Regions from separate parts of the Homo sapiens genome. Here region 1 is linked to region 2. Evidence: promoter capture Hi-C in human tissues and cell types (Jung and others, 2019). All regions are on one chromosome and are shown on one strand. The core of a region is centred on a gene start or on the middle of the fragment in contact, and the rest is flanking DNA. Distances in the headings are between cores, read along the strand shown.

Region 1 (2,700 bases), core at 134-2,633, 220 kb after region 2:
CCCATGAGTGAGCTTGTGCCTGACCTCTCCTTCCAGGTGGACTTACACACTGGGCTGTCGGAGTTCTCGGTGACGCAGCGCCGGCTGGCCCATGGCTGGAATGAGTTTGTTGCTGACAACAGCGAACCTGTGTGGAAGAAATACCTGGATCAGGTAGGACCAGAGGTGTCATTCTTTGCATTAACATGCATAAGCCAGCGAGGGTGGGGCAGCCATTCCATCTTTCAATGTTGATGGAAGGCATCCTTGGACAGCTCCCGCCCCTTTCACGCTGCCCCAGCCAGCCTGAGCATCAGTCATGAGCAAATCACCAACTCCCAGGCAACCGCGATCAGGAAAAACAGTGATCACTTTCGTAGACAGTTGAGCAGGCCCCGGGCCCCACGCTATATGAGTAAGTGAATAAGTAAGCATGCGCTTACTAATCCTCCTCCTAATCCCGCCTTTGCACATGAGGAAGGAGAAGTGCAGAGGTTGAAAGATTTCCCCAGAGTTGCCAGGTTTAGCAAATAACAATATAGGATGCCCTGTTAAATTTCAATTTCAGGCTGGGCGTGGTGGCTCGTGCCTGTAATCCAAGCACTTTGGGCGGCTGAAGCGGGTGGATCACTTGAGCCCAGGAGTTCAAGACCAGCCCGGCCAACATGGCGAAACCCCGTCTCTTCTAAAAATATAAAAATTAGCCGGATGTGGTAGTGGATGCCTGTAATCCCAGCTACTGAGGAGGCTGAGGTGGGAGGATTGTTGGAACCCAGGAGGTGGAGGCTGCAGTGAACTGAGATTGTGCCACTGTGCTCCAGCCTGGACAACAGAGTGAGACCTTGTCTCCACAACAACAACAAAACCAAAGTGAATTTCAGATAGATAAACAAGAAGCAATTTCTAGTATAAGTGTGTCCCAATACAGTGGACGTGCTTATACTAAAAACAAAAAGTTCCTTGTTTTTCTGAAATTTAGATTTTACTGGGTGTCCTACTGTAACCTGAGCCCAAAGTCACATAGCTGTGAGGAGCAGTGCAGAGCAGTGCAGCCAGGGAGCTGCACCCAGAGCCCCTTCCCTTGCTAGCTGCTGCCATCGGTGCTGGCGCGGTGCTGAATGAATGGCACACAATCAAATGCCTGGAAGCCACTAAGAAGGGGAAAGAAAAAACTGCAATTGACATGGCTCCAAGTTCCATTCTAGAAGTCGGCAGTCCCTGCCACCTTTGCAGGACCAGTTCAGAAAGGCTCAGTGAACAGGCAGAATTTTCCAGGTGCCTGAGGGCATTTAGATGGCCTTAGATCCCCTTTTCCAGCCTTTTGCATGCTCTTGGCCCCATCCCTGACATCCCCTTCTTCATTCTCTGGCCCCTGGGCTGCCCCAGGCTTCAACCGCCTTCCTATTGGCTCTGTGTTTACAGCTTCCTCCATTGGTCGATTCCGGAACCAATCACAGTCCCCTGGGCAGCATCCTCTGTCTCCACTCTCCTTGAGGTCCCCTCCCTGATCAAGGCTCAGTTCTCAGTGTTCTGGGAATGTTATTCATCGATGCGTTTTGGCAGCAAAATAGGCTTCTGGGTATGTAGGTGGTTCTGGCTAGCCCAGAAGCTTCCTAAAACTGCAGGGCTGAGAAGAGGCAGTGGAGGCTCCCGGAAGTTGGGGTTCAGGGAAGGAGGCCGAGACATGGGCTGTGAGGGAGGAGCTCCCCTCTGCGGCTGGAGATCTCTTTGCTCTGCCCTGGCACCCCTTCCACTAGGACCCGCTCCCCCACTTCCCCTGGTTATCCTCCTTCCTCGTTCCCCTCTGCTCTGTCGAAACCCACCGTGAACATCTTCCTTCTCACCAAGGATCCTCCTCCAGCCTCCAGCCAGGGTGTTCCCCAAAATGAAATCTCTTAAATTTCTTGAGAGCAGAGGACCTGCTCATTCATCTTATAGCTTGTCGGTTCAGCAATGCATCTGTGGGAATCCTTGTAGGACTGGACGGGAGCTCCTGACGGCTGGGTTTTCCTGCCCTTGCGTATACGGGTTCTGTCTGCTCTCCCTTATTAATTCCTTACATGTGTTGAGTTCCTCCTGCATGCCAAGTGTTGTGATTCTCCTATCTTTCCCCCAGTGACAGGGAACTCATCACCTCACAAGGCAGCCCTGTTCCTCTGTCTCAGGAGTCTCACCATTAGGAATTCTACCTTAGCACGGCGTAAGGCTCTGGACGGGATGGCAGGGAGGCACTAGGCTGGTGCTCTGAGGAGGTGGCATCTGGGCAGAGATCTGAGTGAAATGAGACGGAAAGCCATGTGAGGATGTGGATGGAGGGCGTCGCTGGAGGGCAGGGTGCAGAGTCCCTGAGGGGACAGGAGCCTGGCAGCCTGGGAATCAAGGTGCCCAGACCAGGTGCATTATTATTATTGTTATATTCTGGGATAGGGTTTCTCTGGTGTCCAAGCAGGAGTGCAGCGGCATAAACACGGCTGACTGCAGCCTCAACTTCCCAGGCCCCAGTGATCCTCCTGCCTTAGCCTTCTGAGTAGTTGGGACCACAGGTGCACCTCACCATGCCCAGCTCATTTTTTCATTTTTTTGTAAAGATGGGATTTTGCTGTGTTTCCCAGGCTGGACTGAAACTCCTGGGCTCAAGCAGTCCTCCCATTTCTGCCTCCCAAAGGGCTGGGATTACAGTGTGAGCCTCTGCACCCAGCCCTTGTTGATATTGTAACTCTC
Region 2 (2,788 bases), core at 28-2,527:
ATCCCAGCTACTCGGGAGGCTGAGGCAGGAGAATTCCTTGAAGCCGGGAGGCGGAGGTTGCGGTGAGCTGAGATCGCGCCATTGCACTGTAGCCTGGGCAACAAGAGCGAAACTCCATCTCAAGAAAAAAAAAAATTACATCACAAGGCTTTGGTAAATACAGTCCTCTAGAAGTATGAGCAGCCATAGCATCCCTCCTTTTTAATTAACAAAAATAACAGGGGCAAAAATAACAGCAGCGCTCGCTGACCAAGCGCCAGCATCTATCTGCCAGGCACATGCTAAATGCTGCACTCTTCTATCGCCGTCCCTGTTAACAGAGTTCAGGAAACGAAGGCTCAGCAAGAACTTTAGTCCAACAGCTCTTAGCTGCCACAGCCAAGACTTGATTCCCATCCGATTCAGAGGCAGAGCTCCGAACCAGTGCTCTCGCATGCACCGAAATGCAAACGCTAGCATTAGAGTCTCGCTATACAAAAATCTTTTCCCTTTGGCCGGGTGCGGTGGCTCCCGCCTGCAATCCCAGCACTTTGGGAGGCCAAGGCGGGCGGATCACCTGAGGCCAGAAGTTTGAGACCAGTCCGGCCAATACAGTGAAACCCTGTCAATACTAAAAATACAAAAATTAGCCGGGCGTGGTGGTGTACACCTGTAATCGCAACTACCGAGGAGGCTGGGCACGAAAATCGCTTGAATCTGGGAGGCAGAGGTTGCAGTGAGCCAAGATCATGCCACAGCACTCCAGCCTGGGTGACAGAGCAAGGTTCTATCTCAAAAATAAAATAGAAACAAAAATATTTTCTCTTGGAACCGCATAGCCTGAAACGATCCTAGACAGGCGGAGGGCGCTGGTGGAGAGCACGACCCCACAAAAGCCCTCAGACAAGGCAGCCTCGACTTCCCCGGCCGGCTTCCCGCCCTCGCTGCGGGCTCTCCAGGACCCTTTAGACCTCCAAGGCTACAGAACTCAGTCGGATCCGCAATAACGACAGGCCGGGGACTGCGAAACGTGAGCCTGCCGCGGGGACTGGGGATTGGGGGCGTCCCTCCCCTCCTACATCTGCGGGTCCGCTCCTCGAACACGCGCAGTCCGCGCGGAGGGGGCGCATGCGTGCACTTACGTGACCCCGGCCTCGTCGTGGTCGTCTGGAAAATGGGCCTCGGCGTGATGCTCGCCGGACCCTGGCACCACGAGGGAAATCTCAAGTAGAACCCCAGCTTTGGCACTCGGGACGGGTCAGCCCCGCCGCAGCTACCCACGGTCTTCCGGTTTGGACCGGAAGTGCCTCCTGCGGAGGCAGGAAGTCCCGCCTCCCAGCCAGGCCTCTTAGGGTCCTGGCGCGCCCCCTCCCGGGAGGAGAGGGAACGGGCGTGCAGGCGGCGCGTGGGCAGCGGAAATAAAGCTCCCTTGAGTCCCAATAGTGGAGGCCGGGTGGACTTAGGTTCGAATCCCACATCTACTTCACCAATTTCCTCAGAGTTGTATTAAATTAATCATTTAACGAACTCCCACAGAACACCTACTATAAGCCAGACCTGTATTGGTCAGTAGGTATCCTACTGATTGTCCTTAAATCCCAAGAAGCGGGCTTTACAAATAAGGGTACAAATACCTACTAAGAGTGAAGCTTTTCCAGGGGTGGTCAGGCAGGGAGAGCTTTAGGCAGTGGTCTTCAAACTCTAGCTAGCGTGCGTCAGCAGTAGCACCTGGGGGGCTAGTTAAAACACAGTCTCCAATTCGGTGAGTCTGGGGTGGGACCTGATGATTTGCCTAAGTTCCCAGGTGATGCTGAAACTGCTTATCTGGGGGCCATGCTTTAAGAACCACTGTCCAGTCATGAACCTTACCGTTATCCTAACATAGTACTTCTCAAACTTCAGTGAGCCTTAGAACCACCTGGGGGGCTTGTTACAAGTTTGCTAGGCTCCACCCTACCTCTGCCCCCCGAGTTGCTGATTCAGTAGATCTGGGATGTGGCCCAAGAGTCTGCATTTCTAGCAAGTTCCCAGATGATGCTGGTCCAGGGGCCATACTTTGAGAACCGTTGCTTTAAAGAATCAATTTCCAAATTCTCAGCTGTCATCTATGTCTTTATTTATTTTTTTGAGATGGAGGCTAGAGTGCAGTGGCACGATCTTGGCACACTGCAACCTCCGCCTCTTGGGTTCAAGCAATTCTTCTGCCTCAGCCTCCCGAGTAGCTGGGATTACAGGCCTGCGCCACCATGCCCGGCTAATTTTTGTATTTTTAGTAGAGACGGGGTTTCACCATGTTGGTCAGGCTGAGTCTTGAACTCCTGACCTCAAGTGATCCGCCTGCCTAGGCCTCCCAAATTGCTGGGATTACAGGATGAGCCACCACGCCTGGCCTATATTGTTTTTATCTGGAAGTTTTTACCTGGACTAAAAGTGCCAGCAGGGCTGTGTTCCTTTTGAGAGGCTCTAAGGAAGAGTCCACTATCTTGTCTTTTCTGGCTTCTGGAAGCTGCCTGCATTCCTTGGCTCATGACCCCTTTCCATCTTCAAAGCCAGCAATGCCAGTCGGATTCTTCTCATGAGGCCATCTCTCTGGTTTTTACTCTTCTGTCTCCCTCTTTCCCATGTAAGGACCCATGTGATTATAGTAGGCCCGCCCAGGTAATCCAGGATAATCTCCCTATTTTATTTGTTTTATTTATTTTTTTGAGACAGGGTCTCACTCTGTCGCCCAGGCTAGGGTGCAGTGGTACCATCATGGCTCATTGCAGCCTCAACTTCCCAGGCTGAGATGATTCTCCCACCTCAGTCT

Evidence for each region. Contacts are between HindIII fragments. The study calls those that stand out against the background at their distance.
Region 1: a fragment that was not itself captured here is called in contact with the fragment with the promoter of TAF1C in region 2 in 1 of the 25 tissues and cell types used here (dorsolateral prefrontal cortex).

What each region holds. Positions count from the first base shown.
Region 1 is chr16:84,405,092-84,407,791 of GRCh38, forward strand. ATP2C2 (ATPase secretory pathway Ca2+ transporting 2) reads left to right here. Exons shown (of 27, transcript NM_014861.4): 3 at 37-153. Among named protein-coding and RNA genes, the nearest start is that of ATP2C2, 38 kb to the left of the region's middle. The HindIII fragment of the contact is 6,364 bases long and covers 1-2,700 here.
Region 2 is chr16:84,185,780-84,188,567 of GRCh38, forward strand. TAF1C (TATA-box binding protein associated factor, RNA polymerase I subunit C) reads right to left here and starts at 1,278. Exons shown (of 15, transcript NM_001243156.2): 1 at 1,122-1,278. RefSeq lists an enhancer at 1,118-1,618 and a silencer at 1,264-1,473. The HindIII fragment of the contact is 11,118 bases long and covers 1-2,788 here.